Linked DNA regions of Homo sapiens: all the other regions are linked to region 1. The links are contacts of gene promoters, found by promoter capture Hi-C in blood cells and fetal thymus (Javierre and others, 2016). All regions are on one chromosome and are shown on one strand. The core of a region is centred on a gene start or on the middle of the fragment in contact, and the rest is flanking DNA. Distances in the headings are between cores, read along the strand shown. Region 1 holds the start of NFKBID (NFKB inhibitor delta). Region 2 overlaps ATP4A (ATPase H+/K+ transporting subunit alpha). Region 3 overlaps RBM42 (RNA binding motif protein 42).

What was found. Contacts are between HindIII fragments. The CHiCAGO score rates a contact against its expected background, and 5 or more counts as called.
Region 2: a fragment that was not itself captured here is called in contact with the fragment with the promoter of NFKBID in region 1 in 2 of 17 cell types (fetal thymus and activated CD4 T cells); the score reaches 6.0 in fetal thymus.
Region 3: a contact is called between a fragment that was not itself captured here and the fragment with the promoter of NFKBID in region 1, in 2 of 17 cell types (activated CD4 T cells and fetal thymus). The highest score is 7.4, in activated CD4 T cells.

What each region holds. Positions count from the first base shown.
Region 1 is chr19:35,898,415-35,901,967 of GRCh38, reverse strand. NFKBID (NFKB inhibitor delta) reads left to right here and starts at 1,428. Exons shown (of 12, transcript NM_139239.5): 1 at 1,428-1,526; 2 at 3,146-3,249; 3 at 3,436-3,496. The coding sequence starts at 1,466. RefSeq lists a silencer at 1,395-1,544 and enhancers at 1,444-1,999, 1,905-2,154, 2,000-2,556, 2,569-3,140, 3,141-3,553. The HindIII fragment of the contact is 4,662 bases long and covers 1-3,194 here.
Region 2 is chr19:35,548,119-35,551,671 of GRCh38, reverse strand. It overlaps ATP4A (ATPase H+/K+ transporting subunit alpha), which reads left to right. Exons shown (of 22, transcript NM_000704.3): 19 at 92-225; 20 at 561-662; 21 at 747-838; 22 at 1,029-1,641. The coding sequence ends at 1,057. Among named protein-coding and RNA genes, the nearest start is that of TMEM147-AS1, 3.9 kb to the right of the region's middle. The HindIII fragment of the contact is 2,360 bases long and covers 816-3,175 here.
Region 3 is chr19:35,636,896-35,640,448 of GRCh38, reverse strand. It overlaps RBM42 (RNA binding motif protein 42), which reads right to left. Exons shown (of 10, transcript NM_024321.5): 9 at 3,097-3,291; 10 at 2,764-3,007. The coding sequence ends at 2,895. Among named protein-coding and RNA genes, the nearest start is that of ETV2, 3.1 kb to the left of the region's middle. The HindIII fragment of the contact is 186 bases long and covers 1,925-2,110 here.

The DNA.
Region 1 (3,553 bases), core at 179-2,678:
CCCCTATCACAACACACACTGAATGGGGGAAGAGGAGGAACTTTGCCAGGGAAATGGAGAAAGAGGGAGGGGACCCCTGAGAGCATGGCATCTTGAAAGCAGGGGAGAGGCCACCGCAGTGGCTCATGCCTGTAATCCCAGCACTTTGGGAGGCCAAGGTGGGGGGATCACCTGAGATCAGGAGTTCAAGCCAATATGGTGAAACCCCGTCTCTACAAAAATACAAAAATTACCCGGGCATGGTGTCAGGCTCCTGTAATCCCAGCTACTTGGGAGACTGAGGCAAGTGGAGGTTGCAGTGAGCCGAGATCTCACCACTTTGCCACTGCACTCCAGCCTGGGCGACAGAATGAGACCCTCTCTCTAACAATAAAAATGTAATAATAAAATAAAATAGAAAAGCAAGCAAGCAGGGGAGAAATAGGGCCAACATGGTCAGTGCTGTGAAAGGTCACCAAGTGAAACTGAGAGTGGCCTCCCACTGGAATGCCAGCTCCAGGGCTGGGAATTCCTGCCTGCTTAGTTCACAATACACAGCAAAATGCCTCCTCTGCTGCAATAAATTATTTTAAATGATGAATGAGTAAATGAAACCAGACCTCTAAAAAGGGTGATGTAGGGGAGAGGGAGAAATTGAGCCACACCCTATACCCTTACCCACAGACCCTTCCTCTGGGAGTCTAGACCCCCAGTCCTGCCTCCCTCTGGACCCAGTAATATTCTCCCTGCCCCCACCCCATCTCCATCCCCACTCCTACCCCTACCCCCATGGGCAGGACCCAGGAGACAAAGCCTCCAGCACCCCCTTAGACACAGACCCAGAAATCCAGGCCCCAGCCAGGCACCATGGCTCAAGCCTGTAATCCCAGCACTTTGGGAGGCCAAGGCAGGCGGGTCACCTGAGGCCAGGAGTTCGAGACCAGCCTGGCCAACACGGTGAAACCCCATCTCTCCTAAAAATACAAAAATTAGCCAGGCATGGTGTCCAGCACCTGTAGTGTCAGCTACTCGGGAGGCTGAGGCAGGAGAATCGCTTTAATTCAGGAGGCGGAGTTTGCAGAGATCGCACCATTGCACTCCAGCCTGGGCGACAGAGACTCCTTCTCAAAAACAACAACAAAAAAAAAAAAAAAAAAAAAAGAAAAGAAAAAAAAGAAAAAGAAAAGAAAAGAAATCCAGGCCCCCCGGTTTCTCCCTCCTCTTGGAGCCCGGTGCCCTAGGCTCCTTCAGAGCAAAGATCTGGACCCCAGCTCCCTCCTTCCCGGGGGGACTGAGTAGTCCGCCTCCCAAGTCCGCCGCGCCCATTCAGGGACTGCGTTCGCCGGAGCGCGACCCGGGGACTCCCAGGCCTGTGGGCGGGCCCTGCCCAGGACTGGGCGGTGCCATAACCCCTAGTTTAAAAACTCGCGGGTACCGGACCCAAGATCGGGGACCCGGCGGCGGCTCCGCGGGGGAAACAGCGAGGCTGGCGCAGCGCCGAGGCCGCGGCCCTGGGGGCCCGCAATCCACGCCACGGAATCCCCGAGGTAATGGGCGCGGGCAGGACGCGTTCGGCCCCCTAAGAGAGTGAGGGACTGAGGATCGAAAGACTCCCGAGGCCCTGAGGGACGGAGCTGAAGCGTCAGTCCTTTATCCCGAGAGTGAGGGCCCTAGGTGTTTGGAGGAGGAGGGGATCGTGGATCGTGACAGAGGGGCGGCTGGGATCCCAGACTTCTGGGTCCTGGGGGTGCAGGGGCCTGGGGATCCAGGATCGCAGGGCCCCGAGGGTGCAAGGGCTGGGAGGCTTGGGAGGCTGGATCTCTGGGTCCTTGGAGGTGCTAGGGGTTGCTGGCAACCGAGACTCCTACCCCTAGAAGCAGGGACTAGGCTGAGTGCGGGGGGGGGGGGGGGGGGCGTGGTTGCTTAAAATCGGCGTGGGTCTCGGTGGGGAAGGGTCCGGAGCCTGGCCTCAGGGTCTACGCTGGCGGTGACCCTGCCTCTGCCCCGCCCTGGGATTTCCGGATGGCCACCCGTGCGGGGCTGAGCAGGAATTCCCCTTGCGCGGGGATTCCACGAGCGCCACGATCGGCCGCGCGCCCCGCCTCGGAGCAGGACACCTGGGGCACAGGACTTGGGGGGAAGGGGAGGATGGAAGATTCCCTTGCGTGAGCGCCGTGGCGTCAGCGCGCCGCGTCGGGGCTGTTTCCGAGCCACCTCCTCCCGCCCCCGCCCCGCGCAATCCCCACTTAACCCTTCCTCCGCCGGAACCCAGGCTCGGAAGGGTGAGGGTTCTGTCTTTCTGAGTCGTGGGAAGGAGTTTGGGAACTGGGGCTCCCAGGTCCTAGAGAGGAAGGAACTGAGGGTCCAGATTCCTGGGGCCTGAAAAAGAGACTGTATGGATGGGCCTTTTTTTTTTTTTTTTTTTTTTTTTAATGGAGTCTCTCTCTGTCGCCCAGGCTGGAGTGCAGTAGCGCGATCTCCGCTTACTGCAACCTCAACCTCCGCCTCCCGGGTTCAAGTGTTTCCCCTGCCTCACCTGGGATATACAGCCGCCTGCCACCACGCCCGGCTAATTTTTATATTTTTAGTAGAGACGGGGTTTCACCATGTTGGCCACCTGACCTCAGGTGATCCGCCCCCCTTGGCCTCTCAAAGTGTTGGGATTACAGGCGTGAGCCACCGCTCCCGGCCCGGGGTGAGGCCTTTGACTTCTCGAGGAGGGGCGCTGGGGACTCCTGATTTCCGGGTCAGGTTCTAGGGAAAAAAATGTTGGGAACCTGGATGTGAGTCTAGGGAGTGACGCCTGGCGCCGGCCCCCCACCAACCCGCTGACTTCAAAACTTGGATATCTGGGGGTGGAATTTTTTTACGGAAGTGGGGTGGTTGCTGCAGAGGGGTGCCCTCCTCCCCCTTCCTCACTTTCCGCGACGGTGGTGGAAAGTTGGGTCAGAGGGAAAGTGCGGAGCAAAAGGAAGGAAACGGCGGAGGCGGATGCCCCACCCCAAATCTTCTAATGGCTTTGGAGGAGTCAGGCGGCATCTATGTGCCAGTTTTTCCGCGCGGGAGGGCGAGGAGGGTGCCCAAACCCACTCCCCGCGCGCCACCCCCGCGGCATTTAGGTGACTTAAGGACCCTTGATGACTTCCCCCTCTCCTCTCCCGCACAGTGAGCAGGGGTGAGCGCAGCCACTGCCCAACGCAAACCGTGAAGAAGCTTCTGGAAGAGCAGAGGCGCCGCCAGCAGCAGCAGCCCGACGCTGGCGGGGTGCAGGTGAGGCCAGGGAGCCACAGCTCTCCGGAGGCCCCGTGCTGTCCCGTAGGGACTCAGCGGCTTGCCGGGCCCTCGGGGCTGATGAGAGGGGTGGTCCTGACCGAAATGTCTTATAGATCCGAGACAGACCCGGAGGAATCTGCCAGATAAAGTCACCTGGGTTCCTTTTTGCTTTTGTCTCTACAGGGACAATTTCTCCCTCCCCCAGAGCAGCCCCTGACCCCATCTGTGAATGAGGCTGTGACTGGTAAGTTCTCTCAGCTCCCGGCCTCCCCATCCCCCTTCCCTAAGGGACTCAGACATC
Region 2 (3,553 bases), core at 746-3,245, 350 kb after region 1:
GCCCTGGGACCCTATGCCCGGTGGGCTGCAGAGGCTCTCCGCCGGGACTCAGGCTGGACTCAGGCTGTTTCCGTTTGCCCCTGGCCTGCAGACATTCGGGCAGCGCCTGTACCAGCAGTACACCTGCTACACCGTGTTCTTCATCAGCATTGAGGTGTGCCAGATCGCCGATGTCCTCATCCGCAAGACGCGCCGTCTCTCTGCCTTCCAGCAAGGCTTCTTCAGGTGTCCCTGGCTGGCCCTCTTCCTGCCCTCCAACCCCTGGTCCCAACTCCCATCAGATCCTGACTGTGGTTTAGAACAGCCGGCAAATGCCAGCGGGTGCCAGTGCCAGATGGTGACATGCCAAAAAAACCTTTCTAACTGGCCAATAACTCCCCCCACGGCCCCCTCCACATTTCACTAAAGGGGTGGTGCTGAGAGGCCCGGGCCACTCCAGTGTTCAGTGTGTAGAACACCTCCCTGCTGCTGCTGACATCTGACCTACTTTGACCCACAGTATCCTGATTTCCATCACGTCCCCAATTCCTAATGGCCTGTCCCATTCTGCCCACCCCCAGGAATAAGATCCTGGTGATCGCCATCGTGTTCCAGGTCTGCATCGGCTGCTTCCTGTGCTACTGCCCCGGCATGCCCAACATCTTCAACTTCATGCCCATTCGGTGAGAGGCTGTGAGGGGCAAGGACAGGGAGGGGGCTGTAGGGCACAGGCCTGGGATGGCCTTCACCTTGCCATGTGCCTTCAGGTTCCAGTGGTGGCTGGTCCCCCTGCCCTACGGCATCCTCATCTTCGTCTATGATGAGATCCGGAAGCTTGGAGTTCGCTGTTGCCCAGGGAGTGAGTGTGGAGACTGGGAGCCTGGGGGCAGGGGACTGAAACGTTTGAGCAGCTGCACCCACCTTTGATCCTCAACACTTGGCCTCTAAGCCCTTGACCCTCCATAGCAACCAGCACTGACCTCTGAGCCCCTGGCCCTGCCTAAGTGGCACCCCCAGCACTGAGTCTCCTTTCTCCCTCTCTCTCCCAGGCTGGTGGGACCAGGAACTCTACTATTAGAGGGACGACTGCCTTCAAGCATCCCTGCAACTGCCACAGCAGGTGGGGGCAGGGCTCGTGGGACCCTCTGGACAGCCACCAAGATATCTGAGCAACCAAGAGTCCCAGCCCCACCAGTATCTGCTTCTGTAGCCCACGGCACCCCAAACTTGGAGGGACCTGCCCACTCCCCTCCCCCATTCCCAAGGTTCGCACCTCCTGGAGCAGCAGCGCCTGGGCAGTCCTCTGGGCTGGCCTCGGGAAAGCCGCCACCTGTGGTGGCGGTGGGGCTCTGACAGGGAGTACAGCTGACCGCTTCTGGAGGGTGTTTCTGTTCTTAGGACTCCAGTCCAGGCTGGACGGCTGCCTGAGGGCCCTTCGTTAAAGACACGCTTGTGTCCTGGGCGATGGTAATAAAACCAGCTCATGCTGACTGTGCTGTATCTGGTGCCAGGCACTGTCCTCAGCGTCTCTCATTAGTGCTTGTGATCTCCCACAGTCCTGTACATGGGGGCTGTTTATCCAGGGCTGCACCTCCAGTGCCTAGTACACAGCCTGGCACATAGTAGGTCCTCAATAAACCTGCCTTGGGGAAATGATTCCTATTCCTTTGCCCAGGGTCATGGCATCTAAACGCAAGCTGGGCCGTGGCGATAGGCACCCCCTACCACCTCTGGGCTTTCTCTGTTCTCAGCACCCTTCTCCCTCCTGGAGGCTCCCAGACACAAGGGGGCCCAAGTCATTTCCACATCAAGCATCCCCCACCCCCCAGCGGTGTCTCCTTTCTGAGCCTACCTGCTTACTCCTCTGTCCCGGCAATGGCCAGTTCCTGAACAACTCCTGGAGGTCCCCTCCTCACACCCCTCACCTGAAAGGTTAACCCCATCCCCCTACCTCCCATCTCTGCCGCTCCTTTCCCAGCCCCTCTGTTCACCTCTCTTCCTCTTTCTTATGTGGCTTTCTCTGGCTAGGGCCTGGGCTTCTCCTTCCTTGTGACCACAGCCCCCCAGTCCCCCATGGCTTCAGTTGTTTCTGCAGTGAGACCCACCTCTGTCCCCAGCTTCCCCCAGTGTTGGTGACCTACACTGGCCTCTTCATCACCCCCCATGCCTGTACCCATGCACTGACCCAATCTGATAGTCCCACTGTCCCATCAGTGTGGTCCCTTCTCCCTTGGAAACGTGGTGAGCCCTCGGGCTTACAAGCCCCAAACTCCAGTTATCCTGGAACTCTTTGCTCCTCCCTTACCTGTTAGCGCCCCCTGCCGGTAAATAAATACACACAGCCACTGATCACCAACACCTGGGCTTGGCTTCTAGTCACTCTCCTAACCCCACAAAGCCCTGCCCTGGTCCAGCCCTGGCCTCGTGGCCTCAGCTTTCCCATTTCAGACAACAGCCATGCAGAGCTTCCTAAAGCCAAATCTGACCCTGTCCTTCCTCTGCCTAGAGCTCTCCTTGGTTCCCAAAGCCTCCTGTGATCTGACCCCTGCCAGCTTCTGTAGTCTTACAAGTCCCCTTGAACTCATTCCAACCAGTTATGTTCCCTTGGGAAAAACAGGCCCCCTCTCTGACCTCAAGACCATTACCTCTGCCTTGCCCCAATCACTCATTCTTTAGGTCTCAGCTCACATGTCCTCTGCTCAGGGGAGCCCGCACTGCTTCCACGGCAGGCCAGGCGGCTCCTCTGGGTCCCCATAACCCGGGGTTTTCCCATCATAACCCCGATCACCTGAAGCCTGGCTCCCCACAGTCCAACCGCCCAGGCTTCACCGTCCTCTGCCAACTCAGGCCCAGCCACTCCAGTCTCTCTCCCTGAACCCCATGTAAGCTGGGATTATTCCAGTTGGTAATTTTGCATCCTACACTTGTCTCAATATGTGTGAAGAGCTATGTGGGGCATGGAAGTGTGGGAGAAAGTGACCTTGTCACAAGTCCACCCAGATAGACTGCCCCATCTACTTCCTTTCTACATCAAAGTCAAGGTGATCAATCACTTCCAGCTCCCAAGAGACCCATGGACCCTGTCTTTACTCCAAACAATGAGGAAGAGTGGCCTAGATGGCAGCTGCCGTCTGAAGGCAAATGCTCCCTCTGGAAACATCGAGATGGTCATAGTGAGCTTTCCTAGGCCTAAGCTTAAAAAAAATCAGGTGGAACTTCAACGGCCTGGTGGAGGAGGAGGGGCAATGGTGCTATCCTACTCCCTGGGGTACCCCACTGGGAACACCAAGGATGGGGAGCATCTTCCTGAGTGGGGAGGGTGTACATCAAAGTGGAGCTTAAACATGACATTCAAAACTTCTGACACATCCCCCTCAGAGAAAGGCGGGGAGCCGGCTTCAGTGGACCAAGGAAGGCTGAGGGTGGAGGGGGGCATCCAGGACAATGTCCAAGCTGGGGGCCCCACTGCTCTGCTTCTTGGCTGCAGCTGTCTCTCCACTCCACCCTGAGAAGGCTCAGGCTGGGATCTGATCTGAGGGCCATAGAACTGAGGAGCTCACAGTCACAACTCTCC
Region 3 (3,553 bases), core at 768-3,267, 260 kb after region 1:
TAATTTTTGCATTTTTAGTAGAGATGGGGTTTTGCCATGTTGGCCAGGCTGGTCTCAAACTCCTGGCCTCAAGCTATCCACCTGCCTTAGCCTTAGTGCTGTAATTAGAAGCATGAGCCACCACCGTGCCCAGCCATCCTGCTGTATTTTAATAAGTATGTAATATTTACCATTAAAAATAACTTTTGCATATCGGCATCTTCCAGTCCCCAGCCCAGCCTCTTGATCATTAACTACTTGCCGTTCTGGAGAGCGGGTGGCATTGCTCCTCCTTCCATTTTACAGTAAAGTAAACCGGGGGTCCCATGGAGTGGGAGTGGGACTGGGATTGGAATCAGTGTGGGGTAAGCCACAGAGCCCTGGAGCATCACTGGTCCCTCTATCCGTCCAGCGCGGAGGCCTGAAGGGAGTCCTGGCTTCCCATCCTTGAAGCTGGCCTCTTGTCTGTCTCTCCATGTCTCTCTGCCCTCTTTCTTCAGGTTGGCATATCTAAAGCTGGGTCTCTGTTGCCACGGGCCTGACTCCAGTGAGGCTTTGTCACCTGGTCTCTTCTGACATCTCTGTCCCTCCCCATCTGTCTTTGAGTGTTCCTATCTCATCTCCTTGTCCGTCTCCATCTGTCTCTTGGTTTTCTCCCCGTCCCCCTTCCCACTGCACAGTCTCTGATGGTTCTCATCTCTGCCTCTGAGCCTCCTGCTCACAGCGCCATCTCTACCTCTGCTTGCCACATTCTATGTGTGTGTGTCTCTTCTTGTTCTCAGGAAGACTTGTGTGCATTAAAAAAAAAGATAAACATTTAGGGGGTACAAGTGCAGATTCCTTACTGGATATATGTCAGTATATCCAGTATACTGGCCTGGGCCTTTAGTGCACCCGAATGGTGAGCAACGTACCCAACTGGTAACTGTTCAGCTTCCCCCACGCTCCCACCTTTTGGAGTCTGCAGTGCCTGTTACCCCACTCTGCATGTCCACGTGTACCTGCTGTTCTGCTCCCACTTGGAAGTGAGAATCACATGCATTTGGAAGCGTCCTTTCTGGAGCCATCCTCTCTTCCCATCTCCTCCCGTGACCCTATGCTTGCTGTCAGTACAAGGGGGGTCAGGGGTAGAAAAGACTAGTGATGGGGGGAAGGGGCTTTGAGGATCCTGGGGCTGGGTGGTCTGGCCCAGGTGGCAGGGGGCTAAAGGGCACTTCCTGCCAGGGAGGCTCTCACCCTCTGACCAGACTGGAAAATGTGACGTCAGAGAGGGGGCAGTAAGGCGGGGAAGACAGGAACAGGAGAAATTCGACACCTCTCCTGGGGGACCTCGGTCCCTGAGAGGCCTTGGTATTGTCCATCCCCCGACTTATGCCCCACAAAGTCCTGCCCAACCTGCTCCCTCCTAATGGAGGGTTCCGATGGCTGTGTCCCTGGGAGACCCTCCACTCCTCCCCATACTCAAACCTGCCATCTCCCTCCTCTGGCCCAGTCCCTGCCCCAGCCTTCTAGACTTCCAGCCACAGTGGTGGTCGCAGGGCGTTTTTTTTTTTTTTTTTTTGAGACAGAATCTCACTCTGTCACTAAGGCTGGAGTGCAGTGGCGCGATCTCAGCTCACTGCAACCTCCTTTTACCAGGTTCAAGCGATTCTCCTGCCTCAGCCCTCCCAAGTAGCTGGGACTACATGTGCCCGCCACCACGCCCAACTAATTTTTGTATTTTTCAGTAGGCACAGGGTTTCACTATGTTGGCCAGGCTGGTCTCGAACTCGTGACCTCAAGTGATCTGCCTGCCTCCCAAAGTGCTGGGATTACAGGCGTGCGCCACCGCACCCAGCCGGTCACAGGGCCCTTTCTACAGCGCACATCTGTGCTGCCCAGGACCTTGCTGCTGCTTGAATTTTCTCAGCTTTTTGGGGCTTGCTGCTGCCTTCTGCGTAAAGCTTAAGCCCTCAGCCTGGCATTCAAGGCCCTGCACAGACACCTCTTCAGACAGGCAGAGGCCAGCTTGGAGCTGGGAAGAGAGGGGAACAGACCCCAAGTCTCTGTTCTCTCTATCTGTGGGTCTCTCCTCCTTTTTCATTTCCCAGCTCCAAGGGAGAGAACAGAGACCAACAGGGATATAGAAGCTTAGAGACAAGAAATGGAGGGGTACCCACAGAGACAGAGATAGAGGTGCCCACCGAGACTTAGAGCATGGTGAGCTGGCTGGGCATGGCAGACTGGAGAAGCTGGAAAGCCCCAGAGGAGACTTGGGGGTGGACGGTTCCTTCAGGAAGGGCCCCCTCACCCACAGGTCAGCGCCCCCATCCTGCCCTGACCACTCTGGGCTCTTATCGTCAGGGCACCGGGCCTATTTTCTGCACTGGACCTTGAGCTCTAACGGTGCAGGGCCCAGGACTTTTAGTCACCATTGTGTCCTCAAGCACTGTTCAGACCCTTGGTGAGAGTCTGCTGGATGGAAGAGGGCCTAGAAGCCTGTGAGCTCCAGAAGGGAAGGGCCTAGATCTCCTACCTTGGTGCTGAGAACACAGGAAGTAGCCAGGACACGGGGATGGGCCTCAGCTTGGCTTCACCCTTGCCATTGGCCCCCCTTTCTCCTCTGGAATAAGCAGCACTCAGCATGTGTGGAAGAGGTTTGAAGAGGGAATGGGTGCGCAGGAAGGGCTCAGAAGCCCCCGCCTGGGTGTTTGCCTGGGTAAACTCTCAAGGCTCCCCGCCATTTCCAGCTGTGGGGAAGCCAAGCCCTGCTCCCCACAGCGTGCTTCCATGCCCAGCCAGGGGTGGAAATGAACGTAAATTTATTGAAACTGGTTTTGGGGCAGGGGATGGGTGGACAGCTGGGGGTTTTCCAAAGAGAACTGAGGGAGGAGCCAGCGCCCGGCCAGGTGGGAGCGGGTGCCTGGCCACAGACCCTATCTCAGGCCCAGCTTCTTCTTTTCCTTCTGCTTCTTGCGGACCACGTCCAGATTCCGGTCCTTCCACATGCTCTTGCGAAGCTTGATGGGGCGCGAGCCCACATACTTCCCTGTGGAGACAGAGGGTTCAAGGCAGGCTCGGGTCAGGCTTAGGCCAGCGCCTGCCGCGCCTGCAGTTCCCAGGGGAGGCCGCACCCACCATTCATCTCACGCATGGCGCGCACGTAGTCGCTGGGGTCCTTGAAGCTGACGAAGCCGTAGCCCTTGGTCTTGCCTGTGCGCTTGTCACGGATCACCTTGGCCTTAAGGAAGGATGGGAAGCGGCTGAAGGCGCGTGCCAAGATGTCATCGTTCACCTCATTGCCCAGATCCCCACAGAAGATCCGGAAGTCATCTGGGGATGGGGAAGAGATGACATCAGAGGATGCAGAGGCCTTGCCCAGTGTCTACCTTGTCTGAACGATCCCACCTTTTCGGAGGTATCTAGTCTCTGCCTAGGGACCTCTTAGTAATAATGGTCAACACCTACTGACCCTGCGCCAGGAGCTCTGCTGGCACCTGGAGGGGTGTTTCCATTTCTGGCACTCCCAACCATGCTTTTACACTGAGGCACAGAGAGGTGAAGTCACTGCCCACAGTGACACAAGCAGGAAGCG